Regions from separate parts of the Homo sapiens genome. Here all the other regions are linked to region 7. The links are contacts of gene promoters, found by promoter capture Hi-C in blood cells and fetal thymus (Javierre and others, 2016). All regions are on one chromosome and are shown on one strand. The core of a region is centred on a gene start or on the middle of the fragment in contact, and the rest is flanking DNA. Distances in the headings are between cores, read along the strand shown.

Evidence for each region. Contacts are between HindIII fragments. The CHiCAGO score rates a contact against its expected background, and 5 or more counts as called.
Region 1: a fragment that was not itself captured here is called in contact with the fragment with the promoter of LINC02332 in region 7 in 7 of 17 cell types (total CD8 T cells, naive CD8 T cells, non-activated CD4 T cells and 4 more); the score reaches 10.6 in total CD8 T cells.
Region 2: a contact is called between a fragment that was not itself captured here and the fragment with the promoter of LINC02332 in region 7, in 3 of 17 cell types (total CD4 T cells, non-activated CD4 T cells and naive CD4 T cells). The highest score is 6.4, in total CD4 T cells.
Region 3: a fragment that was not itself captured here is called in contact with the fragment with the promoter of LINC02332 in region 7 in 1 of 17 cell types (naive CD8 T cells); the score reaches 6.7 in naive CD8 T cells.
Region 4: a contact is called between a fragment that was not itself captured here and the fragment with the promoter of LINC02332 in region 7, in 6 of 17 cell types (non-activated CD4 T cells, total CD4 T cells, naive CD8 T cells and 3 more). The highest score is 11.0, in non-activated CD4 T cells.
Region 5: a contact is called between a fragment that was not itself captured here and the fragment with the promoter of LINC02332 in region 7, in 5 of 17 cell types (naive CD8 T cells, total CD4 T cells, non-activated CD4 T cells and 2 more). The highest score is 10.2, in naive CD8 T cells.
Region 6: a contact is called between a fragment that was not itself captured here and the fragment with the promoter of LINC02332 in region 7, in 4 of 17 cell types (non-activated CD4 T cells, naive CD4 T cells, activated CD4 T cells and 1 more). The highest score is 8.9, in non-activated CD4 T cells.

Annotation. Positions count from the first base shown.
Region 1 is chr14:21,822,802-21,826,715 of GRCh38, forward strand. It overlaps TRA and TRAV10. Among named protein-coding and RNA genes, the nearest start is that of OR4E1, 150 kb to the left of the region's middle. The HindIII fragment of the contact is 634 bases long and covers 1,848-2,481 here.
Region 2 is chr14:21,705,077-21,708,649 of GRCh38, forward strand. It overlaps TRA. Among named protein-coding and RNA genes, the nearest start is that of OR4E1, 33 kb to the left of the region's middle. RefSeq lists an enhancer at 3,340-3,509. The HindIII fragment of the contact is 3,331 bases long and covers 280-3,573 here.
Region 3 is chr14:21,636,011-21,639,777 of GRCh38, forward strand. It overlaps TRA. Among named protein-coding and RNA genes, the nearest start is that of OR10G2, 3.0 kb to the left of the region's middle. The HindIII fragment of the contact is 5,745 bases long and covers 1-3,767 here.
Region 4 is chr14:21,930,269-21,933,810 of GRCh38, forward strand. It overlaps TRA. Among named protein-coding and RNA genes, the nearest start is that of OR4E1, 260 kb to the left of the region's middle. The HindIII fragment of the contact is 4,495 bases long and covers 1-3,542 here.
Region 5 is chr14:21,721,847-21,725,806 of GRCh38, forward strand. It overlaps TRA and TRAV3. Among named protein-coding and RNA genes, the nearest start is that of OR4E1, 50 kb to the left of the region's middle. The HindIII fragment of the contact is 2,337 bases long and covers 742-3,078 here.
Region 6 is chr14:21,873,361-21,877,040 of GRCh38, forward strand. It overlaps TRA. Among named protein-coding and RNA genes, the nearest start is that of OR4E1, 200 kb to the left of the region's middle. The HindIII fragment of the contact is 5,738 bases long and covers 1-3,680 here.
Region 7 is chr14:22,554,641-22,558,718 of GRCh38, forward strand. It overlaps LINC02332 (long intergenic non-protein coding RNA 2332), which reads right to left and starts at 2,422. Exons shown (of 3, transcript NR_146543.1): 1 at 2,311-2,422; 2 at 2,152-2,213; 3 at 1,671-1,882. LOC105370399 (a long non-coding RNA gene) reads left to right here and starts at 1,926. Exons shown (of 2, transcript XR_007064066.1): 1 at 1,926-2,926. RefSeq lists enhancers at 758-887, 1,468-1,567, 1,618-1,957, 2,818-3,027 and a silencer at 2,068-2,117. The HindIII fragment of the contact is 9,123 bases long and covers 1-4,078 here.

The DNA of each region.
Region 1 (3,914 bases), core at 915-3,414, 730 kb before region 7:
ATCCTTTCCTGAAGTAAGCATCTCTGGGGGATCAACCCTTACTTTGGACTACAATGCCATTGCCATCAATATTTAAAAGTAATCTCACCATAAGATACCATCTCACACCAGATAGAATGGTGATTATTAAAAAGTCAGGAAACAACCGATGCCATTGAGGATGTGGAGAAATAGGAATGCTTTTACACTGTTGGTGGGAGTGTAAATTATTTCAATCATCGTGGAAGATGGTGTGGCGATTCCTCAAAGATCTAGAACCAGAAATACCATTTGACCCAGTAACCCCATTACTGGATATATACCCAAAGGATTAGAAATCATTCTACTATAAAGACACACAAACATATGTTTATTGCAGCACTATTTACAATCGCAAAGACTGGGAACCAACCCAAATGCCCATCAATGATAGACTGGATAAAGAAAATGTGGCACATGTACACCATGGAATACTATGCAGCCATAAAAAAGAATGAGTTCATGTCCTTTGCAGGGACATGGATGAAGCTGGAAGCTATCATTCTCAGCAAACTAACATAGGAATAGAAAATGAAAAACCAGCCAGTCACAGTGGCTCATGCCTATAATCCCAGCACTTTGGGAGGCCAAGGTGGGTGGATCACCTGAGGTCAGGAGTTCAAGACCAGCCTGGCCAACATGGTGAAACCCCATCTCTACTAAAAATACAAAAAATTAGCTGGGCGTGGTGGTGGGTGCCTGTAATCCTGGTTACTTGGGAGGCTGAGGTAGGAGAATCACTTGAACCTGGGAGGTGGAGGTTGCAGTGAGCCGAGGTCATGCCATTGCACTCCAGCCTGGGCAGCAAGAGCAAAACTCTGTTTAAAAAAAGAAAAAAAGAAAAGAAAACTGAACACCGCATTTTCTCATTCACAAGTGGGAGGTAAAAAATGAGAACACATGAACACAGGGAGGGAACATCACACACCGGAGCCAGTCGGGGGTTAGGGGGAGAGCAGAGGGAGAGCATTAGGACAAATACCTAATGCATGTGGGGCTTAAAACCTGGATGATGGGTTGATAAGTACGGCAAACCACCATGGCACATGTATACCTATGTAACAAACCTGCACGTTCTGCACAAGTATCCCAGAACTTAAAAAAAAAAAAAGTAATCTCATTGTAAAGGAAAGCAGCTGTTCACAAGAGCATATAAAACTAACAATGGATCTATATTATTTAGGTTCACGCAGATTTAAGACTGTGATGTCTACATGCAACTCTCTGTATATATCTATCTGTATTGATAGAGATATGTACATATCTATATCTGTATCTATCTATCTATATAGAGAGATTTATTTTAAGGAATAGTTTCACACAATTTTAGGGGCTGGGAAGTCCAACTTCTGCAGGGCAGGTCGTCAGGCTGGGCAACCTGGGAATCACTGATTTTGCAGTTTGAGTTTGAAGACAAGTCTGGAGGCATAATTTCTTCTTCTTTGGAGAGCCTAAGTGTTTTTCCCTTAAGACCTTCAACTGATTGAATGAGGTCCATTCACATTATGCAGAAAATCTGCATTACTCAAAGTCTACTGATTCAAATATTAATCTCATCTAAAAACACCTTCACAGTGACATCTAGACTGATGTTGGACCAAATATCTGGGTACTGGGGCCTATCTCAGTGGATGCATAAAATTAGCCATCACACGGTCTTTACCTCTAGCAAATCTTTTCCAAAAGCCTACTTTGCTTATACAACTATAATATACCAACTTTCTTTTTATTGTTTCTTGTATAACTATTTCCATTCTTTCAACTTCTCTGAGCTTTAAATTTCAAACTTAAAATAAATCCTCATATATCTACACTCTCAACTGTTCATAAGCTTCTTATTTCACTGAGAAAATAGAAACAATCAGAAGAGAATTTTCAAAAACTTCAACACTTACCAGTCACTTGCATCTATGCTCAAATACTCTGTCTTTCCTCTCATTAGAATGTCATCCCCTGTGTGCAGGGACTTTGCTTATTCTCAGCACTTATCATCATACCTGAAAATGTAGGCATTTGAAAAATAATTGTTGAATTAAAAATGAATAATAAAAATAACTCTGTCATTACCAGAACAAAACTATCATTTATTCATTCCCTCAATAAAAATTTATTATATGCCTATTTATTGACAGGCCTTATTCTAGCAACTGACAATGTAGCAGAGAATAGAACAGATAAAAGTCCCTATCCTAAGGGAGCTTATATTTCAGTTGAAGGCTAAGTTCATGTTAGCCACTACAATAAGCCTTTACATGAATCATCTCTTCAATCTTTCAAAAATTGTTAGGTAAGTGTTATCATACCTATTTTCAGATGAGAAAGCTAAGGCTCAACTCTCCTATTTAATATCACATAGAGCCAGAATGCAGAGCTTCAAATATATGTCTAAATTACTAATCTACTGTGCTGATATAGACATGAAGGGCTTTATCCTCTATATCATGCTGCAAATAGGAGGAAAAAAGCTTGATCAAAAGTTCTAAGCAATTGTAGCTCTGACCCCAAGAGGGCAGTATTTGCATTCGCCCCGCCTGCAGGTCTGAATGTGTAGTATGTGTAACATAGCGAAGCCTGGTCTCTGATTGGCTAGGGATACCCTCTGAGAAACCCTTTGGTTAGTGTTAAAAAAAAAGAGAAGATGTTGAATACACAAGTCAACTTCTGGGAGCAGATCTCTGCAGAATAAAAATGAAAAAGCATCTGACGACCTTCTTGGTGATTTTGTGGCTTTATTTTTATAGTAAGTTAGTGGAGAGTTTTAGCAAAGTTAACATAGTAAGTCAAGGGAATATTTTCTTAGGATTTGGGGTGAAGATGTAGTCCACTGGGATAGGAGGAAGGGAGAAAATGGGACCATTTTCTGTTTCACTTGGGATTCATTGTGGGGAGTAAGGAAGGGATGCAAATTAGACAGTATTAATACTGGATGATGGATCTCTTGAATCTCACTTTTCTTTCTGAATAGGGGGGAATGGCAAAAACCAAGTGGAGCAGAGTCCTCAGTCCCTGATCATCCTGGAGGGAAAGAACTGCACTCTTCAATGCAATTATACAGTGAGCCCCTTCAGCAACTTAAGGTGGTATAAGCAAGATACGGGGAGAGGTCCTGTTTCCCTGACAATCATGACTTTCAGTGAGAACACAAAGTCGAACGGAAGATATACAGCAACTCTGGATGCAGACACAAAGCAAAGCTCTCTGCACATCACAGCCTCCCAGCTCAGCGATTCAGCCTCCTACATCTGTGTGGTGAGCGCACTGTGCTCCACAGGCACTTGAAGCCAGTATGCAAACCTGCACCTGGAGGTTATCAAGGAGGCATAGGAGTTAGAGTAGACCGTTATTTTTTATGCAGAATATGATTTCACTAGTGAATATTTATCTCTCCGACATGATTTGATTTGAGCTTGAGCCTAAAGTTCTACTTAGGCTCAAGTAGAATACATGTCCTCAAGCGAGGATAAAGACATTCTCACTCAACACACAAAGTTAATTGCTACATCTGGGTGTTCCCAAGGGCAAGACAGTCTGTCATGCTGTGTTACTATTGCTGAAGTAGATGACAGTGTTGTTTGGAAGGGAGAGACTAGCTTGGTTTTTGATCTGGACACCTACCAGCAGAATGTCAACTAAGTGAAAGAGCAACAAGTTTATGTGGCTGATGGAAATTTTTTTTTTTTTTTTTTTTTTTTTTTGAGATGGAGTCTCACTCAGTCGCCCAGGCTGGAGTGCAGTGGCGTGATTTCGGCTCACTGCAAGCTCCACCTCCCGGGTTCATGCCATTCTCCTGCTTCAGCCTCCTGAGTAGCTGGGACTACAGGCGCCCACCACCACGCCCGGCTAATTTTTTTGTATTTTTAGTAGAGATGGGGTTTCACCGTGTTAGCCAGGATGGT
Region 2 (3,573 bases), core at 695-3,194, 850 kb before region 7:
AAATTTTTCTTTGAAATGACTACCAAAGATACAGGTAGGACTGATTGAGAAAAGGCAGAAATTGAAGGTCTGAAAAGAGAGAAAAGTCAAGAAAGAAGAATAAAAAGATGTAGTCTGGGAAGTATTAGGCAAATTAGGCTTGAGCAATATTATGAAAGTTTTCAGCATTGTTCCCTTATAATTGCAAAATGGGAAGTATTGTCACCTCTTTCATTTTTTGGAAGAGTTTGTGAAGGATTGGGGCTAATTCTTTAAACATTTGATGCAATTCACTAGTGAAGCTTCCTGGGCCTGGATTTAACTTTGTGGAATACTTTTTGTTTACTTAATTGATCTTGTTATAGATCTGTTCGGATTTTCTATTTCTTCTTGAGTCAGTTCTGGTAGTTTACGTCTTTCTAGGCATTTGTCTTTCTCATCTAGGTTATCCAATTTGTTGGCATATGCCATTGTTGTTCATAGCATTCCCTTATAATCATTTTTATTTCTGTAAAATTTGTAATGTTTCTATTCCTGATTTTAGTCATTTCAGTGTTTTCTCTTTTTTTTTTTCTTGGTCAATTTAGCATAACAAAAAGTTTGTCAATTTTCTTGATCTTTTCAAAGAAGACATTTTTGGTTTAATTTGTTTTTCTCTATTGCTTTTATAATCTCTATTTCATTTATTTCCACTCTAGTCTTTATTATTTCCTTCCTTCTTCTTGCTTTAGGTTTAGTTTGTTCCTTTATTTCTAGTTTAAGGTAAACAGATGATTAATTTAATATTTTTTCTTTTTATAATTTGGTGTTTATAAATTTCCCTTTAAGCACTGCTTTAGCTGCATATCATAAGTTTTGTTATGGATTTTTTGGGTGTGTTTTTGTTTCCTTTAATCTCAAATTATTTTCATATTTCCCTTATGATTTCTTCTTTGATTCATTGTTTATTTAGGAGTGTGTTGTTTAATTTTCACATATTTGTGAATTTCCCAAATTTCCTTTTTAACTTTTAGTTTAATTTCATTATGGTAGAAGAAAATTATATAGTTTTAATCCTTTTAAATTTATTATTTTTTCCTTTTGGTTCTTTTGTTCTAATTTCTATCTCTTCATTGATATTCTATAGTTAGTGAGCCATAATTCTTATAGTCTCTTAGTTCCTTATTTGTGATTTTTTAAAGTTCTTTGAACATGTTTGAAATAGCTGATTTAAAGTCTTTGCCTCATAATTTCAATATCTAGCTTCCTCAAACTTTCCTTTTCTTTGTTTGACTTTTCTGTAGACCATATCTTCTTGTTTCTTTGCATGTTTTGTCTTTTTTTTTCATGGAAAACTTGTTATGGACATTTTATTTTACTTTTGCCTTGAAACATTTTATTTATTTATCTTTAAAATTTTATCATTTTTTGGGAGATATTTAACATTTTAAATAATATGGCAACTCTGGAAATGTCACTCACCCCCTCGGGGTTTGTTGCTGCTGCTTGTTATTGTGTTTGCTATCAGTTTGTTTACTGACTTTCCTGAATGCATTTGTAAAACCTGTATTCTTTGTCATGTGTGGCCATTAAAATCTCTGCTTGTTTAGCTTAATGGTCAGCTAATGATTGGATAGAGATTTCCTTAAATGTCTGGAATCAGTAGGTCTCTTATCCTTCACTGATGGGCTTTGTGCATGTGTTTCACCAGACCTTCAATATTTAGCCTGGCAGTTTGCAACTCTGCCTTAGCCTTCACTTCTTGCTCTCACAGAGCTTCAAGGTCAGTCTTAGGTGAGATATTAGGTACTTCTTAGATCTTTCCTAGGTCTTCAAGTGGCCTTTGGCGTGTATACAGCCTTCTGTGTGCTTCTGCATGGCTTTCTAGAGTTTCAGGAATATGTTGGAGTTTTTCAGAGCCCCCTATTGACATTTCGTTATTCAGCTTTTCCTTTAAGTGTATTGGTCAGTTTCTTGTTTGTTCCACCATTATCATCTCCTCAGGCAGTGGCAATGTTAAATAATTGGTGCTTATTGTTTTCCACCTCCTCCCCTCCAAAAAGGTTGTTTGCAATGAGCAAGTTCTGAATAAGATCAAATACAGGCAAGTCTTGCCAATGGAGGTTGCAGGAATATGCCAGACAGGTCAAATAATGACAGTGCTCTGAGAATAGTGTTTTTGGGGAGCTCCAAACCAGCTTTGCCCTGTCTAGTAGCTTCAAGGCTGCTGTTTCTCACCATTATGGCAGTGCTGTTGGTTTTCAAGGCTATTGGAGAGCTGGGGAGAAGAAGACGAGAACAGGACAAATTAAAACACCACAAAGTTGCTGCTCACTGTTCTTATCTAGATACAGCCAGTTTTCATGAGTAAATGCTTCTTGAATTATTGCAAGTCTTTTGTTAATTTCCAGAGTTCAGAAAAAAAATATTTATTTATTTATTCATTGTTTTTGAGATAGAGTCTCACTCTGTCACCCAGGCTGGAGTGCAGTGGCACGATCTCAGCTCACTGCAAACTCTATCTCCTGGGTTCAGGTGATTCTCATGCCTCAGCCTCCTGAGTAGCTGAAATTACAGGCGTGTGCCACCACGCCCGGCTAAATTTTGTATTTTTAGTAGAGACAGGGTTTCACCATGTTGCGAGGCTGGTCCCAAATTCCTGACCTTAAGTGATCTGCCTGCCTCAGCCTCCCAAAGTGCAGGGTTTATAGGCATGAGCCACTGTGCTCGGCCAGAATAAGTTATTTTGACAATTTTTTTGGCCAGTGTTTTCATTGCCTTTGTGAAGAGGTGGTTTTTGATTGTTATGCTGCTATTCTCACTGACTTCACTCATGCTATTCTGTCATGCCTCAATCAATCTTCATCACAGAGCACAGTCTCTTCATCATTTCCCACAAAATCCAGTTACAGCAAGTAATTATTTTTCAATAGACTTTATTGGAGTCTATTTGAATAATTGGCAGATAAAGTCCCATTTTTGTTGTATGTTACTTTTTGCCATCTTGGAGGGTTTTACCATTTTTTCCTTTACTTATCTCCCACCCTATCCCCAGATGCCTCTCCCTGTAATATTAAACCTATTCTTTCTTCTTTGATCCTACTTGGTGTTATTTTCTTCTCTAATCATTGTCCAAAACCAATGAAGTTCTCTTAGAACTTTGGAAGAATTCAAATGAATTAGAATTATATTTTGTTATAAATATTAAAGTCCCAGGTAAGTTGCATATAGATCATTTCAAAATGTCTTTTCAAGCTATCCAATGACATTTTGGCTGGCTGCTGCTTGTGAAACCACCAAGATCTCCATCCTCCTTCTTTCTTTCTTTGTCTCTCTCCACCTGAATTAATTTTTGTCCTTTCATAGATGAGACCTATTTTTTTTTGTAACTTGGAGAGAGGTGAGAAAATTTGGATCAGTAAAAAGGCTAAGGTGAAGAGATGAGAAAATATTGGAGGAGGAAGGCATACCATCTGTTCTCCACTTGTCTCCTCATACTGATTTTGAGCCCCCTGTAGAGACAGAATTTTAGAGATAGAAGTGGATTGAAATATGTTCAAAAGGAGCTTTGTGAGATGTACAGAAAATACACTCTCTTTTCCAGCACTAATGGAC
Region 3 (3,767 bases), core at 1,015-3,514, 920 kb before region 7:
TAATATCTATGTATTGCAGTCTATCAAACAGCAACTCTCTCTAAAGACATTTACAGATTTTCAAGTATCTGAACAAGATGATAAAATAGAGGGATGGAATGTGTTTGTTTCACTCTTTTTGTTAAATAGGTTGCTTGATAAAGACTTTTCGCTCTATATATGGTTTGAGATGCATTTATCTTTCATTTAACTACAAAATATCTTTGTAATGCAAATGACTACTTTCATAAAGCAATTAAAATGACAATAGATTATTATAAATAACATGTGAATATTAATAAGTTTAATCTCTATCGGAAATTCTCCAAAGAGATTTTATCTTAAGTATTCTGTGAAATAACTTAATTCATATGTTAACATTCAAGAGTTATTAGTAGTAATAATAATAATACTGAATATATCTGGCTCTTCGAAGTCTGGAAAATGTTAAACTTGTCCTTTGCCCACCAAGAACGAAGAAATATCAGATTTTTATTGCCTGAGTTTCAGGAGGACACTTTGATTTATTTGAAAATGGATGGGAAAACTAAATCTTATTTTTGTGGTTAGAATATAGAGAAAAGAGGCTGGGCGTGGTGGCTCACGTCTGTAATCCCAGCACTTTGGGAGGCCGAGGCAGGCAGATCATGAGGTCAAGAGATGGAGACCACCCTGACCAACATGGTGAAACCCTGTCTCTACTAAAAATACAAAAAAATTAGCTGGGTGTGGTGTCGGGCGCCTGTAGTCCCAGCTACTCGGGAGGCTGAGGCAGGAGAATCTCTTGAACCCGGGAGGCGGAAGTTGCAGTGAGTGGAGATCGCACCACTGCACTCCAGCCTGGTGACAGAGAGAGACTCTGTCTCAAAAAGAAAAAAAAAAAATGAATATAGAGCAAAGATAGAAAGAGTTGAGATTAAAATGGTGCATAAAATACTAATTATGGCCAGGCGCGGTGGCTCATGCCTGTAATCCCAGCACTTTGGGAGGCCAAGGTGGGTGGATCACGAGGTCAGGAGATTGAGACCATCCTGGCTAACACGGTGAAACCCCGTCTCTACTAAAAATACAAAAATTAGCTGGGTGTGGTGGTGGGCGCCTGTAGTCCCAGCTACTCGGGATGCTGAGGCAGGAGAATGGCGTGAACCCGGGAGGCGGAGGTTGCAGTGAGCCAAGATTGCGCCACTGCACTCCAGCCTGGGTCACAGAGCGAGACTCCATCTCTTAAAAAAATATATATACATATACATATATATATATATATATACTTATTATGAGCTAAAAGTAATTTTCTTTTCTTTCTTTTTTTTTGTGTGATTGAGTCTTGCTCTGTTGCCCAGGCTGGAGTACAGTGGCCTGATCTCGGCTCACTGCAACCTCTGCCTCCCAGATTCAAGTGATTCTCCTGCCTCAGCCTCCCAAGTAGCTGCGACTACAGGTGCGCGCCACCACGCCCAGCTAATTTTTGTATTTTTGGTAGAGAGGGAGTTTCACCATATTGGCCAGGCTGGTCTTGAACTCCTGACCTCATGATCCACCCACCTTGGCCTCCCAAAGTGCTGGGATTATAGGCGTGAGCCACCGCGCCCAGCTGAGCTAAAGTAATTTTCTTTGCCAATACAGGAATATAAACTAGTAGGCTTCTACTTAGGCAAATAATATATTCATGAAATGTTTTATGAAAATCCATTTTTATATTTAAAATCAGATAGAACTGTACCACTGGGGCAATTATTTGAAGGACTTCCATGATGCATACTTTCGTATAGTGAAAAGTTTATCCCTAATTTATCTACTTTGCCGGTCTGATTTTCCCCCTTTTGTTGTGCCTAAGTCTGGTTTCATTTCTCCCAGGCTCCCTGTTGAAAGAAAGCTCTTTTTACCCCTCTAGGTTCTGGGTTCCCTGCCTGGGAGGAGGCAGGAAACTGAGATGGGTTATAGCTGGTCGGTTTGAGGACAGGATACCTTTCCAGGCAGACTTGGTAAAGAACAGTGGTTTTAGCTTGGTGTTTGGTATTCAGAGGCTGCAGAGGAAGATAGCTTAGACTTCCAGAAGGTAGATTTTTGGAGAAACAAAGAGTGTGTTTACAGAAGGATTGGCTTTCTTGGCAAGAGAGGTGAACAGTCTGGGACCACCTTAGAGGAGACAAAAGAAAGGCCGGGCATGGTGGCTCATGCCTGTAATCCCAGCACTTTGGGAGGATGAGGCTGGAGAATCGCTTGGGCCCAGAAGTTTGAGACCAGCCTAGGCAACATAGTGGGACCCTGTCTGTAAAAAAAATTTTAAAAATTAGCCAGGTATAATGGTGGGCACCTGTAGTCCTAATTTCTCAGGAGGCTGAGACAGGAGGATCACTGGAGCCTGGAAGGTCAAGGCTGCAGTGAGCCATGATGGTGCCACTGTACTCCTTCCTGGGTGACAGGTTGAGACCTTGTCTAAAAAAAAAAAAAAAAAAAAGACAAATGTAGAGGCCGTATTTGTGTATCCTCTTTTCCCCCTCCCTTATCTTCCAGATTTGTGTCATTTTATTTTAGGTCTGTTCCTCTTTTTTAGCTTTTGAAACTTATGATATTTAAGATAAGGAAAGTTAAATACAATTTTAGTATATCTACCCTAGCTAATTAGATAACCAAAATATTCTAAAATTCCCCAAGTTTTAGACTGTATTGGATATTCTCCAATTAGATAGGTCAGAATTTAAATAATCAAAACACATGAAAATAACAAAAAGTTAAAGTTCAATATAAAAAGCATCTGAAAATAAGAGCCCAGTGACATCAGAGAATAAACAGCATATTTTTACAAAGCAATTATCCTGGAAACTCTAAGAAGAGACTTTGGGAATGGGGTGAAAGAGTAGCACTGAGAAGGTAAGGACAGGGAGGGTCAAGAACACCTTCAAGGGACCTCTATGGCATTATGGGATCACAGGATAAGCTGCTTTCTATGCCCCTACTCTGCCCCAAATCAAGCTAGTTTGATATGTGAACACATTTCTTGCAGTGTATTTAGAGAGGTGCCGAGGAGGGCAAGCCTCTATCCAGCAATTTGAACCTAGATTTCTACAGTGACCTTTGGGATCTGGACTACTATGCAACGGTTATGAAATCTTGAAGATGAGGAGTGAAGGCTGGTCCAGCATTGCGTTGGACACATTATGATCAAAGGACTCCTGTTTACCCTTGTGACAAAACTCAACCCAATCTGCTTCCAAAAAGAAGTTTCACCTTCTGTCATCCTTTATTCAGAGTTAGACATCCTGGTAGAGCTAGGGCAGAGTAGAGGAAATGGATAGAATTTGAGGTGGCCTAGACATATTTTATCGAATTCACAAGAGTACATTCTTTCCTATTACCGGGGGTTAAAAAAAACGAACTTGCTTTAGAAAAAGTACTTAGTGCCCTCTTCATTGGAGAAGGGGAAGGTTATGAATCCAGCCTTTCTTTGTGTTTGCACAATCACTGAAGAATATTCTTCAAGACCCCTATGACTTTATCACTGCCCAACTCTGCCCTTTATCACTGCCCTAATAAAAAGAGAATATGAAAAGAAAATAGTGTTGTAATGCTTTTTTTTGAGTCATTTTCTCAACACAAAAAGAGTTTCCCCAAGTTTGAAAAGAAGGAACTTAATTCTAGCCCGTTTGGGAAAGAGTTGAGGAAACGCATGGAGAAAAGAGACGGATTAAATTAACACTCGGACAAAATAACAGAAAGTCTTAAAGTTCCAAAATTAGTCTGCAGCCTTATTTTGAACATAGCTGGTGTCAGGCCTGCTTTTTCCATCC
Region 4 (3,542 bases), core at 862-3,361, 620 kb before region 7:
TTGTGGAAAAATATATATAACATAAATTTTGCCATGTTAACCATTTACAAATGGACACTTCAGTAGTGTTAAGTACATTCCTTTGTTGTGCAACCATCACTACCATCCATCTTGAGAACTCTTTTCATTTTGGAAACCTGAAACTCTGTGACTACTAAACAATAGCTCTCTATTTTCTTCTCCACCTAATCCCTAGAAACCAGCCTTCCTTTCTGTCTTTATAAGTTTGACTACTCTAGGTACTTTGTATAACTAGAGTCATACAATTTTTTTTTGTGACTGCCTTATTTCACTTAGCGTAATGTCCTCAAAGTTCATTCATGTCATAGTATGAAGCAGGCTTTCAGAATTTCCTTCCTTTATAAGGCTGCATATTATTCAATTGTGTGTACATACCCTATTTTGTTAAACTATTTATCTATCAATGGAAATTTGAGCTGTTTCTATCTTTTGGCTATTGTGAATAAGCTGCTCTCAACAAGAGTATGCAAACGTCTCAATATTTGGGGTATATCCCCCAATTCTTTCAACTTTAGAAGTGATATACCCAGAAGTGCAATTGCTGAATCACATAATAATTCTATTTTTAATTTTTTAAAGAACTGCCAAACTGGTTTCCACAGTGGCTGCTGTACCATTTTACATTTTCACCAACAGGACACAGGTGTTTTGATTTCTCCACATTTCATCAGCACTTCTTTTACTATCATTATTTTTGATATGAATAGTAGCCATCCTAATGGGCATGAAGTAGTATGTCATTATGATTTTTATTTGCATTTCCCTAATAATTCGTGATGATGAGTATCTTTTCCTGTGCTTATTGGCCAATTGTATATCTTCCTTGGAAAAATGCCTATTCAACTACTTTGCCCATTTTGAAATGGGGTGTCTGTCTTTCTCTCTCTCTCTTTCTCTCTTTCTTTCTTTCAAGATGGTGTTTCACCATGTTGCCCAGGCTGGTTTTGAACTCCCGAGCTAAAGCAATTCACCTACCTCGGCCTCCAAAGTCCTGGGATTACAGATGTGAGCCACCGCGCCTGGCCTGGGTTGTCTTTTTTTTCTGCTGAGTTGTAAGAGTTCTTTATATATTCTGGATATTGATCTTTTGTCGGATATATGATTTGATATTTTTTTTTCCATTCCATGGGTTGTTTATCCACTCTGTCACTCCATTAATTGTGCCCTTTGATGCACAGTAGTTTTTAATTTTGATGTAGTCAAGTTTATCTAAGTTTTCTTTTGCATCCTATGCTTTTGGTATTATAGCCAAGAAATTATTGCCAATTCCATGCTTTCTGAAGGCTGAAAAAAAAGAAAAAAAGAAAAAGAAATTATTGCCAAATCTAAATCGCGATGCTTTTCCTGTAAGATAAGAGTGCAGTTTCACTCTTTTGCATGTGGATATCCAGTTTTTCCCAACACTGTTTGTTGAAAAGACTTTCCTTTCACCCTTAAACAGTCTTAGGACCCTTTCCTAAAATAATTTGGTTGTAAATGTGAAGGTTTAATTTTGGGCTCTCTATTGTATTGCATTGGTCTATATGACTGTCATTATGCAAGCACCACACAGCTTTTGCTATATTACTGTAGCTTTGTAATCAGCTTTGAAATCAGGAAGTGTTAGACCTTCCAAACTTGTTCCTTTTCAAGATTATTTTGGCTATTTGGGGTTTCACAAGCTGCCATATGAACTTTTGGATGGATTTTTCTATTACTGCAAAAACACTATTGGGATTTTGATAGGGATTGAATTGAATCTGTAGATTGCTTTTGGTAGCATCGACATTTTAATGATGTTAAATTCTCCAATCCATAAATATCAGATGTCTTTCAACTTATTTGTGCCTTATTTAATTTATTTCAGCAACATTTTTGTTTTCATTGTGCAAGTCTTTAGCATTGTTGTTTAAGTTTATTCCTAAGTATTTTATTCTTTTTGATGCTATTGCAAATGGAATTATTTTCTTAATTTCCAAAGTGTTCATTGTTAGTTTATAGAAATGCAATTGATTTTTGTGTGCTGTTTCTGTATCCTTCAAGTTTGTTGAATTCATTTATTAGTTCTAACTACAAGCATATTTAATGGTGGAATTTCAGGTGTTGTGACAGCAGATTGGAGAACAGGACATTTGTCTCATGTCCCTCAGGATAACTCATGTAGGCTGCAAAACTTCAAGCATACATAGAAGCATCAACTTCATAATGTAATCATTTTATATCTTTAATACATCAGGCCCTTCAAAATTTAGTTTAAATGTTGAGAAGTCAAAGAATGATGTCCTTCTAAGAATAAATATTCTAACACATGATGATGTGCTGAACAAGATGAAGAATTTGTATTTGGATACATATTTTTAAAGCAATGTTTAGTTAGTAATTGAAAATACTAAACCAGGAGAAAATAATGTGCACTCTGGTTTCCATACTAGAGAGATATAGAAGCAGAAAGTTTTACCTCAGTCCACAGATCTAGTAAATAAACATCCAACACTTAAACTTGGGTCATTTGACTCCAATTGATGAATTTTCAGCAAACAATGAAATATAAAAGTAAGCCAATTCAATATACAACTCCAGAAGTTATAAAATTAACAGTAAAATAAAATGGTTGAGAGTAGATTGAAGGAATTAAAAATAAAAGCAAGAAATTAATGGCTCAAAGGAAAATAACAAAATCAATGATAAAACCACAACATGATATTTTGAAAATAATTACAATACTAACATGATCCAGAAAAAAAAAGTGAGAAGGGACAAATGCATGCACAAAAAAAAACAACATAATTAAGTTGAATTTATTTTGGGAATGTAAAGATGATTTAATACTTGAAAATCTATTAATATAATGCTTGAAATTAACAAACTTTAAGAAGGCCAAAGATGTTCTAATGCCTGGTTTGGTGGATTGTTTCATTTGGATCTAGGATGATTCACTGTACCTGTGCATTTGTGCAAGCTCATTTAATTTGGTTGGCTCTTAAAAATATTCGGATTCTTTCTCTTAATTTGACCCCAATTATAGATATAGTGTTATTGTTCTTAAATTTCTTGTTGCATTTAGATTATTTCTATGAAGAAAGGGGAAAATGATAAATTTATTCAATCATATTTATGACAAAGTTTTGGCTTCCATATTATTGTTTTTGTATTTTTCTTTTATTGTGAAGTGTACCAAGTTTTATTTTAGAAATTGCTGGACCAGTAAATATTGTTCAAGTTGATGGGTTGTATAGACTTCAGATTTTTGGAATGTTCTTGAAAATTATTCCCATTTATGTCCTTAAACCTTGCATAATCTTGTGAAATAATGCTTCATAACAATGACTGACTGTGCACAGATTAAACAATGCTTTAAATAATGTTAGTCATTAGGAAGAATTAAGCTATGATCCTGTATGTGAGAAATTTTCATACTGGTTAATTTGAACAACTATGCTTTAGACTCCTTTATCACAAGCAAGTTTCCAGGAACAGAAAGAGAGTGGTCACTGGCCATGAATAAAGTTCCAGTACTCTGGTGGTTCACAGAAGTTTAGGAA
Region 5 (3,960 bases), core at 660-3,159, 830 kb before region 7:
AGTATAGCTATGCCCGTATATGCATTTGTAGGGCAGCAATAAACTCCAGCATCAGAGGGCTGGACATTTCTCCATTTTCCTCTTCAGGTCTATTATATCCTGCTCTGTACCCCAGGAGGCTGACTTCTATACGTTATGTGGACTGGTCTCCCATGTCCATTGGCATCTGGTTGGGTTTACCCCAGTGGGAGGTATTAGCAGGAGAGAGTGGTCAAGATATTTGCATTTTAGGATCCTTTCTTTCCTCTACTGAAGTTTACAGCTCCTGTTGGGTCTACCCAGAATATGGTCAAGAAGAGGTATTTAGACTGTAAAGGGTCATGTCGCCTTTGGCCTGTGATTAGTTACAGGTGTCCTGAGATTAGGGTAATTTCATCTTCTCCCGTCCCTTTGGGCCTAGGAGTGGTGAAATCTTCTGGCTGTTATTAGCCCCAGGTGCTTCACCTTCCCTTGTAGTTTTCCCTAAATTTTGCACATACACTTAAAAATATTCTTTTTGTTAAGCTTTTTTTCAATGATTTTCTCGAGGCGATTGCCAGGACCCTCAAAAAGACAACACTAACACTCATTTTAGGCTTGAGGCAGAGAGAGAAGAAAGAGAAGAAATTCACTATATGTTTCCATTTATGACAAGTCTCTCTGGAACTTGAAGATTATTGTTTAAAGACAGTTTACCAATTCCAAAGAAAAACATTATTATATGGCTAAGTTTTCAATGATTAAATATGAGATCTTTAGCAAAGCTTTTAGAAAGAATTATGTTCCACTTTTTTTCTGATTCAAAGCAAAGAGATTTTTCATCCTTTCCTCAGAATATATAGTGAACATTATTTGGACACTATTCAAAAGAAACAGAAGGCAAATCAGAGGAACAACTTCTTTATATTGATACATGCTTTTTACATTAAAATTAAAATCTATCAAAGAATCACTCAGTTGCTATTGTTGCCTTTTTTTAGTATAAAACTTTAGCATGCCATCCCTTTCCAATGAACCCCTTTTCCCCATCATAATACATCAAGTTTCGTTAACCATACATTTTTTGCTGAATACGTACTTCATTTGAAGTCTGTTTTAAGTAGGCTCTGCATGTGGAAAGTACCTGTTTTGCAACCCCTTCTCAGAGTTTCATTTTTTTGTTTTATATGTACTGTTTAATATGACAAATGCTCCAAAAATATTTATAACACCTATTCGTACTTTTCTCACTCTAAAAATGTTTAAAGAGAAGATTCAAGTTTCTTTTTGCCCTAAAGATCATTATGGGATGGGCTCCTAATAGGCCCAACGTGGAGAAAATTCTGAGTTATTTTTGGTCAAAGAGGTTTACACAGAAGCCAGCTCTGAATTACTTCTAACGAGAAGAGCAAGGCTCCTGTTTTCGCCTGTCATTTATCTTCTCTTGCCTTACTCTTTTCTCCTATTTTGCTTTTTCTTATCTCTCACTTTAAATTTTTCTCTCCCTCTTGATGCAAAGCTATATTTTCCTTTCTTTTTCTGTGCATTTTCCCATCCTATTTCCCTTCTTTCTGTCTCTACATTATCTTAAGAGAGCACAAATCATTTACAGCTTGATCCACTCAGCCTGAATCTTTTCCACTTTGATTCACAAACTTCTATTTCTTCTCCTTTGAACCCCTAATTTGCTCCCTATGTCCCTCATGGAGCGTGTAACCATCCAAAGGTTGGCCCAGGGATAAGGCCAGGAAGCACCAGCTGCTTGACAGTAAAGTCGCTGGTCCTACGTGTGGGCTCTAGGGGGCGATGCAGTGTAAGGTCTGTCCTGGGCATAGGCGGAGCGGCAGTCTTGCTCCTCACAGAGCTTTGAGGAGCTGGATCAAAATTGTGCTCCACAGAGAGAAGATACCGGTGTCGGGAAGCACCAGTGCCCTGAGGAAGGGCCATTTCCAAAAGCCCTGTGCTGACACAGGGTTGCTGGTTCCTCTTCAAGAGCCCACTCTCTGGGGTGGGGCCATATCTCCAGCAGAGGTGGGCTGGAAAGGACCCCCCCAATCCCGCCCGCCGTGAGCTTAGCTGGAGCCATGGCCTCTGCACCCATCTCGATGCTTGCGATGCTCTTCACATTGAGTGAGTAATATCCCCTTCCCATTTTCCACTCGCATGATCCACTTACATGCTCTCCAGCAGCTTCACTGATGCAGCATGATTAATTTACAGGTGGGCTGAGAGCTCAGTCAGTGGCTCAGCCGGAAGATCAGGTCAACGTTGCTGAAGGGAATCCTCTGACTGTGAAATGCACCTATTCAGTCTCTGGAAACCCTTATCTTTTTTGGTATGTTCAATACCCCAACCGAGGCCTCCAGTTCCTTCTGAAATACATCACAGGGGATAACCTGGTTAAAGGCAGCTATGGCTTTGAAGCTGAATTTAACAAGAGCCAAACCTCCTTCCACCTGAAGAAACCATCTGCCCTTGTGAGCGACTCCGCTTTGTACTTCTGTGCTGTGAGAGACACACACTGATAGGGGCTGCAGGGGGAGCAGAACACAAACTCTTGAGTCTGGTAAAGCCCATTTTCTTGAAGTCTTTGTTCCTTCACATGAGAACGGTGTGCTTCCAGGATATGTCACTTATTATGTTAAACTACAATTTAAAACCATAGAATTTGCTCATTCAGCAAGTGTTTATTGAGTCCTGATGTGCCAGGTACTGGGCAAAGCACCGGTCATAAAAAGGTGAAAGAAGTGTAAAACAAATAGAAAAAAACATAGGGGAAAATTACCATGACATTGGTCTGGGCAAGAAGTTCCTTCCTTCCTTCCTTCCTTCCTTCCTTCCTTCCTTCCTTCCTTCCTTCCTCCCTCCTTCCCTCCCTGCCTCTCTCTCTTTCTTTCTTTCTGAAAAGGGGTTTATTTTCAACAGACATTTCTTTTTATACCGAGGTGAAATGTCATCATCATAATAATTTTGCAATGTTACATACCCTGTTGAGACCATTAAAAAATTAGGTTCATGGTATACACGTCCAAGTTTGTTACAAAAGCATATTGTGTGATGCTGTGGTTTGGGCATCTATTGATCCTGCCACCCGAAGAGTGAACATAGTACCCAGGAGAAAGCTTTTCATCTCTTGTGAGCAAGGAATTTTTGGATATGACCCCAAAAGCACAGGCAACAAAAGCAAAAATAGACAAATGGGGCTATATTAAACTAAAAAGCTTCTGCACAGCAAAAGAAACAATAAATAGAGTGAAGGGAAAGCCTATGGAATGGGAGGAAATATTTGCAAACTCTACATCTGATAAGGGGTTAATATTCAAAATGTTTAAGAAGCTCACATACCAAAAACATCCAAATAACCTGATTAAAAAATAGGCCAAGGAACTGAATAGTCGTTTCTCAAATGAAGGCATAAAAATGGCCAAGAGGTATATAAAAAATGCTCAACATCATTAATTATCAGGAACGTGCAATTAAGACCACCATTAGATATCACCTCACAACCTATTAGGTTGGCTATTATCAAAAAGACAAAAGATAACAACCATTGTTGAGAAGGTGAAGAGAAGGGAACTCTTCCACACTGCTGGCAAGAACGTAAATTCCATAATGTGCAACCATTATGGAAAACAGTAGGGAGGTTTCTCAAAACACCAAAAATAGAACTACTGTATGATCCAGCAGTCTCACTATTGGGCATATATCCAAAGAAAATGAAATCAGTATGTTAAAGAGATATCTGCACTCTCATGTTTATTGCAGCACTATTCACAATAACCAAGATATGGAATCAATCTAAGTATCTATACTTAGATGAATGGATAAAGAAAACATGGCATATAAACACAATAAAATACTATTCAGTCTTATAAAAGGAAGAAATCCTGCCATTTGTGACAACACAATTGAGCCTGGAGGACATTATGTCAAGTGAAATAAGCCAGGCACAGAAAGACAAATACCACATAATCTCACTTATTTGTGTAATAAAAAGGTTGA
Region 6 (3,680 bases), core at 204-2,703, 680 kb before region 7:
ATGTGGCATCATAAGATTTAATGGTGATTTCAGTGAAAGATCTGGAGATGCTTCAACAAATTTAGACATAGCTGAAATCATTTTAAGACAAGGAGGATAGGTTGTAATCATTATATTAAGAAATAGGCTATAATAGGCAATGGGTCTTTGTTGTTTTTAATGTAATTGAGTAATATCCCTAGGACATGGCCTTACTGCTAATATTCACAAAACGAAAGCCTTATCACAATCAATTTTCCTATAATAGTTTTTCCTTGGGAGACGTATGGAGACACCTAGGATTCATACCTTTCAGCAGTGGATGTACAGAATGTAATGGCTTGTTATGGCTCATTTGGGGTCCCAGATGACATAATAAAAATGCATAAATTCAAAGGTTTGATAACTTAATGATCAGAGTCTGGTGTCTAATATGGCCTGTATAAACAGAGCTGGGCTGTCTAAACTAACTTGAAAAAAGAAGAAAACTTTTAAGATAGGACTCAATGTCTGAGGGCTTCATTCTAAACTCTCAGAAAAAAGAGATTAGTTTTTTTCTGCGTAGAAAAGAGAAAGAGAGATTAGTTTTTTTCTACCGTTTGTTCCCCAGATAAGCAACTGGACAGACTTTGGGAATAGGACAAATATTGCTATATTAACATGTAGGTCCGATGATCTGCAGTGATTAGTGCAAACAGCTTTTCCTTCTTAGCATAATGTGATTAATTTCTACCTTAGGAGAAACAACAACATACATAGATGTGAGGATACATAATTGTTACATCTTCCGTTGCCTTCATTATTCATTACATGTAGTATTTTAAAGTAAGTGCCAACCTCTCAACCTCATTGCTCAGTTCCATCACAGATGCAATGACTGAACATAGCAATTGGCCGAATTATCAATTTCCCTTCTAACCTGACCATGTTTATTTTCATATTTAAGTTATTTATTATCAAATTAAGGGTGGGTAAGTGCAAAGGAAGTTTGCATTGGGTGAGGTTCTTAGCCAGTACATAGAGAAGTGTTAGATAACACAAACTAGCTTGCTACACCGGAAAACCTCCGTTTCCTATTCCAGGGCAGCAGCAGCAGCAGCAGCACATAGTCCAGTAATTCTTCTCTTACTTCATCAGACTCACCTCACAATGCAGAGCCCTGAATTTTAAGAAGAACAAAATATATTCTCTCTAGAGAAAGAACCAAACATGTTGCTCTCCAGCTGCCTGAGGGTGGTCACAGCTTCAATGTGGCTAGGTAGGGATGCCCCTGGTGGGAATGGTCTTCCTCTAAGACCCAAGGACTGGGAAATGTCTCATCAAAACTTTGGGACAGAAGAAGTAACAGGGTGTAAAAATAGAATTTCTTTGTTCCACATCACTCATCCCTAAACCTTTTGGTTCTTTGTTTTCTCCTTCAGAATCTGGTTTTGCTGAGAAGTAACTCAAATTAAACCATCAGTATTGGTGCATGAGAAGGAGGCTGTGACTCTGGACTGCAATTATGACACCAGTGCTGGAAGTTATAGTCCTTTCTGGCACAAGTAGCCCAGGAGTGGGGAGATGATTTTCCTTATTCATCAGGACTCACGATCAGCAATAAGCAATAGGTCACTACTCATTGCATTTGCAGAAGGCAAGCAAATCCATCAACTTGTCATCTCCACTTCACAACTGGAGAACTCAGTGATGTGTTTCTGTGCACTGAAAGAGGCTACAGTGAGAGAACTGTTGGAGTGAGGTACACAAAATCCCCAAGGGTCTGCTTGAGACATCCACTTGCTGGAGAGACCAAAGAAAGGATTCACCATCACAGACAGGAAGTGGCTATGGTTGTGACAGCACAGGTGTAGCATCGGGGGAAAACACTGTAAGAAAATACCTCTCTAGGCTTATAGACCATTTCCAGAATTATCATTCATCAAAAACATCCTAATCCCTGAGTCTTTGGTTTGAAGTTAGACACACCAAAATTTTGACCAATGATTGAGAGAAAGAACTGCCACAATAAGCAATTTGCCATCTGGCCACTAGATTGAGCTGGAAGAATTGGCTAAGGTAATTCAGAAACATATGACTGAAAGATGAATAAAAACAAATTCAACACTCTTTGTGAATTGTTGGATTTTCAGATCAGTTTATTCAATAAATGCTAGGTGTCTTCAAAAAGTTTATGGAAAAAAGAAATTGCGTATTATGAAAAACGGTGCATGGATTTCAAATTTTCTGGCACCAAAATAAACTTATACTAAGTTGTTATAACATATCTGAACAGGATTTAGTTTGAGGCACTAAGAAGGATAAGACATCAGTTTGAAAGGAGCCCCTATCAGAGCAACATGAATTCTGTTAAACTTGAGGCAAGAACAAACATCAAATTTATGGTGAAACTTGGGTGGAAGAATGGTGAAATCACTGATGCTTTATGAAAAATTTATAGGCTCAACACTCCAATAAAATCAGCCATCCTCTTGTCTGTCTGTTCTTAAACAAAATGGATAATTTGTTTAAGAATAGACAAGAGGATGCCGATGAAGCCCACAGTGGCAGACATTCCATAACAATTTGTGAAGAAAAAATTAACCATAAGTGCCCTAATCAAAAAGGACGGATGATTAACAGTGGAAACAATAGCCAACACTATAAATGTCTCAACTGGTTTAGCTCACACAATTCTGACTGAAAAGTTCAAGTTGAGCAAACTTTGTACTTGATGGGTGCCAAAACCACTATGCTCAGATCAGCTCCAGAAAAGAGCAGAGCTTTCAATGAAATTTTGAATAAGTGGGATAATGATCTTGAACCATTTCTTCAAATAATTGGAACAGGAGATGAAACATGGCTTTATCCTTTTGATTCTGAAGATAAAGCACAATCAAAGCAATGATTAGCAAGAGGTGGAGGTCCAGTCAAAGCAAAAGTGGCCCAGTCAAGAGCAAAAGTCATGGCAACAGTTTTTTGCGATGCTCAAGGCATTTTGTTTATTGAGTTTCTGGAGGGCCAAAGAATGACAGCATCTGCTTATTATAAGAATGTTTAGAGAAAGTTAGCCAGAGCTTTAGCAGAAAAATGCCTGGGAAATCTTCACCAGAGAATCCCTTTCCACCACGACAATGCTCCAACTTATTCCTCTCATCAAGCGAGGAGAATTTAGGTTTCTGTGGGAAATCATTAGGCATCCCCCTCACAGTGCTGATTTGGCTCCTTCTGACTTCTTTTTGTTTCTTAATCTTAAGAACGTCTTTAAAGGGCACCACTTTTCTTCAGTTAATAATGTAAAAAAGACTGCATTGACTTGGTTAAATTGGTGGCTAATCATCCAGTAAGTAAGCAAGAAGAATACATATTCACCGAGAATAAATATGTATCCCCTATGTGTACAACGTACTGTATTAGGACCTTTGACTATACCGACAGTAGTATAAAATGTTACTCTTAAGCAGAATGAACTTACCAGAAAAATCTTGCAAATCAATTGAGGAATAAGATGAAATGCATGAAAACTTAACCAATAGATAAAATTCCAAGTATGTGGGCAATTAAGTTTTAGGGGTATTTTTAGGAGAATAGTGTGGCACCGAAAAGACACAAGTAAGCATCATGGAGAGATAGAAAACTTAGGCATTAAACGACAGACACACATTGAATTCATTCATTATACACTTACTTATGAAACACACAATAAGCAACAATTGTTTTTG
Region 7 (4,078 bases), core at 1,172-3,671:
ATCCGGAAAGCAGGCTCAGCTCCACCCCTGAGAAATTTCCGTCTAAATCCAGGAGATCCTTGATTCAGCAAGAACCTTCCCTCATGTCCGAGGCTGTTAAACCTAAAGCCAGTTAGGGCAGAGGTCAGAGGGGTGGACCAGGAGCAAGTGGGTCGAGGGTGAGCAAGTGTTGGGAGTGGGGATAGAAACTCCATCCATCTCCGACTGCTCTGCTCGCATATCTGGCTCCAGGGCCCACCTGGTATGTCAGAGGGAATTAGAACGGCCTTGTGAGGAGGCTCAGGAGAAGGGCTCCTGTGCCCACCGGCCAAGTCAGCACTGGGCCTAACGCCACCACAGCAAAGCCCCTCAGTGCAGAGGGCCCAGCTATACGGAACTGGGCATTGCTTAGCCTGGAGGGAATAGGCAGCTGAGGAGACCTGGAAAACACAGTCATGAAGAGACTGGCCATGAAGACCCACAGACCCTGCGAGCCAAGGCCTTGGGCTGCAGCTGCAGCTGCAGCTCTACCAGCCTGGACCCAACCTCAGGCCGACATCCCAGCAGGGAACATGTTACTAAGGCCAGTTGTAGAAGGGACTTCTCTGGACACATGCCCTACTCTCCCAAAAGACTTAAGCACAGGCCAGTCCCAAAGGCAGAAGAATGGACTAAATGAGCTCTTGTGGCCCCAGCCCTAAGATTCTAGAGGACTCTCTGAAACTTCACTTGAAGACTTGACCTCTGAGTGCAACTGGAGTCACAGCCACTCAGGAGAAAGGGCAGGCTATGCAAGCACGTGCTTCAGGAGCATCCTGGTGAGGTCTTCAGCTCTGACAGAGCAACCCCTCTGCTGCTACCCTCACTGGGGGCAGCCATCTGAGTCTTAAGGAGTTGCTTATTTTTTAGGTCCAAACATAAAATTCAACTCCCCTGGGATCACGTATACAGACAGGCCTATAGCACCTTATTATCAGGTACCATCCTAGTGTGGAAGTCCCCTGGCCTGTGTGCTCTGTGGGATGGGAATGTCCCTTGTCATCAATGTGTCCCCAGGAACTAGAACAGTGCCTGGCACACAACAGATGCCGTTAAATGAATAAGTGAATGACTCCTGCAGTTAGGCTCTGGGTGGGGGGAGCTGAGTGTGAGGAGTGGGGAGTACAGGAGAAAGGAAAGTGGGGATTAGTAGAGGAAGTGGTCAGGTGAGTCAATGCTTCACAGTTTTGCCAAGAGCTAAAGTAACTTGTCAAGAACTTCAGAACAAGGAAAGCCTGAGTGGTGGCCCCTTGCTCAGGGCAGCCCCCAGGCAGGCACACATCTATCCAACAAAGCCTGGAGGACAGGGACTGTGGTAAATCACGCAGGGTACCTGGGAGTCTGACCTCACTGTGTGACCACACTGAGGTCCAGAGCCAACAGTCACTTTATGTGGGTTCGCCTCAGTTTCTCCATGAGTCCTACTCTAAAACCCATCTACCTCCGTGAGCCATGTGTGGGAAGACGAGCTTCTGACTGGGATGAGTCTGGGGGAGCAAGCACATGGAGACCCAGTGCTGTCATTCTGGCTGCCGGAAGGCTGCAGGACCACCAGCGCCCTGCGTCTGTGTCAAGGCCACCTGGGCAACGCGGCGAGGGGTGGGGAGTGCAGGCCTCCTTTCACACAGAGACACACAGGCCTGAGGCCTCTCTGGGTAGCACACATAGAGCTATATTTTGCAATTAATAAACAGGTCAGACATTGAGTCAGTAGCCACAAGTAGAACAGGAAGTGGAAAAAGTCTCCCACTTCCCTCCAGGTGTTTGGGGGCTGGGGCGGTCCCCTCCCATTTCCATGACGTCATGGTTACCAAGAGGGGCAAGTAGGGCACCCTTTGAAGCTCTCCCGCAGAAGCCACATCCTCTGGAAAGAAGAGTTTAAAATACTGAGTTAGAGATAGCATCGCCCCAGGCCACGTGCCGAGGGGAGCAGGCTGGGCCGTTACACCACCCCCCAACCGCAGGTGCAGCAAGGCCAACATGCCAGGCTGGGAGGGGCTGCCGGCCCCTCGGTGACTTGCACCGGGCCCGCAAGCAGGCTGGGGAGGTGCTGCTGGCCCCACCGCTGAGCCGCCTCCCTCACCGCACCTCTGCTGCCCCTCCAAACCAGCCAAGATCAGACCTTGATCTCACCTGATTAAGCGCTTGCTTAGTACAGGGCAGACCCTCGAGACTTATGCTCAGGCCAGTGTCTCCTGGGAGGGAAGGAGGTGGGGAGGCCGTATTTGCCCCCACACAGAGCTAGGGCTGATTCTCTGAGGGACCCCCCCCCAATAGCACCTCCCCCCTTACCCTGATGCTTGTCCATTAGGTGATGGCCCTAATGGACGCCTTGATGGACACGTCCGGGACCCAGGGACCCGGAGACCAGGAATCTGCTGGTCTCAGGGAGCCGCAGAACCTGAAACCCAAAAATACCAGGCTTGATCGCCTGCTCTTCGGTAGTGTCGCCATCCACCCGCATGGGGGCAGCAGCGCTCCACCAAAAAGACCTCTTCTCCCTTTGTCTGTTAATTCTGGAGATAGAAAGCCCCCAAAGTTTAGGAAAAGCTCTTTTCCGAGGAAAATAAAAGGGCAGGTGACTTTTATCCCACAAGTCCCTGCCCTGTGCCCGTCACTGCGCTGGGCGCAAGGCCTGTGTCATCCTGTCACATCCCCCCCCAAAGGAGAGGAGGGCCTGGGGCCTGGGCCGGCAGCAGGGGGCGCTGTTCGTCCGGGATCGTCAGACCCGCTCCACCCGGAGCCCTGGAGGAAGTGCCCAGGGAGGGCTGGGGGCCCGGAGGAGGCCTTGGGTTCGGAATTAGGCTGGCTGGAGTCCGGGATCCACCACATCATACACTCGTGCCTTTGGCAGGTCACTAACCGCCCACCGCCTCAGTTTCCCGGTGGGACGAACTCTCTCTCACAGGTAGTTTAAGAACCAGGCTTTCTTTGGCATTGTATACCTGCCATGTGCCAGGCTGTGTCGTGCTCTGGGGATTCAGTCTCTGTGCAAACTATGACTCCATACAGATGAAGTCCAAGAACAGGCAAAACGCATCACAGGTGATAGAAATTAGGGCACTGTTTGCCTCTGGGGTAGAAGGATGGATTGAAAAGGGGCACGAGGAAACCTTCAGGGGTGGTGGAAATGTTCCATATCTTTATCTTGGGTGATGGCTATATATATATCAAATGCATCATTAGTGTATTTTCATGTAATTATGCCTCAAGAAAGTACTGCTCCCATTAAATACACACACACACACACACACACACACACACAGAGTTTCTGTCTTCAAGGAGTTAACAGTCCAGTGAGTAGTGGGTATGAAAGAGATGTGTTAATGGCTGCAATTGCAAGACAGAGGCTTTTGTTACTATATTCTCCTCAGGCAGGAGTCCTCAGGCAGGAGGCAGGAGAACCAGTTGTTTGTCCCTAAGCGTCACTGCCCCTCACTAGCCTTCTCTCCTGGGGCCTTTAATTTTTCTGAGTCCCCATGTGTTATTATTCACATAGAGATAAAAATACCTGCCCACCTATTCTCAGTGTTGTTGAAGGGATTGAAAGCAGTAATGGGTGTGGAATGCTTAGTAAACTGAAATCCCAGTGCAAATATGAAGTGGGAATGCATCAGAATGCCCAGGAAGACGAACCATGACCCGAACAAGATGGGCTGGGCCAGGTCAGATGGCACTGCCATACTGAGAAAAAAGTGGGCTGGCTGCGGCTTCACACAGCCCGGGAGAGCTCAGAACTCCCCAGGCCCTGCCGGTGCGCTGGTGTTTCTCATAGTATGTGGCCACCTCTCCAGTCACTTCGGCCCTAGGAGCTTCTTGTTACACCATGATTTTGTCACTACCTCCGCAGCTTCCCACCTCCTGCTTCCGGCTTCCAGAAGGAAGCGCGTGATGGAGGGGAAATGACAGGGCCAGGAGGCAGCGGTCAGGCTGGGCCGAGTTTCTGACAGAAGCCAACACTTCTGGCCCCACAGTGCTCACGGCCTCCCTGACTCCTCACCACATCACAGCTGAAAAGGCTCACGTCTTATCTCCCCTCTCAACCTCTGGGGGCTTCTCT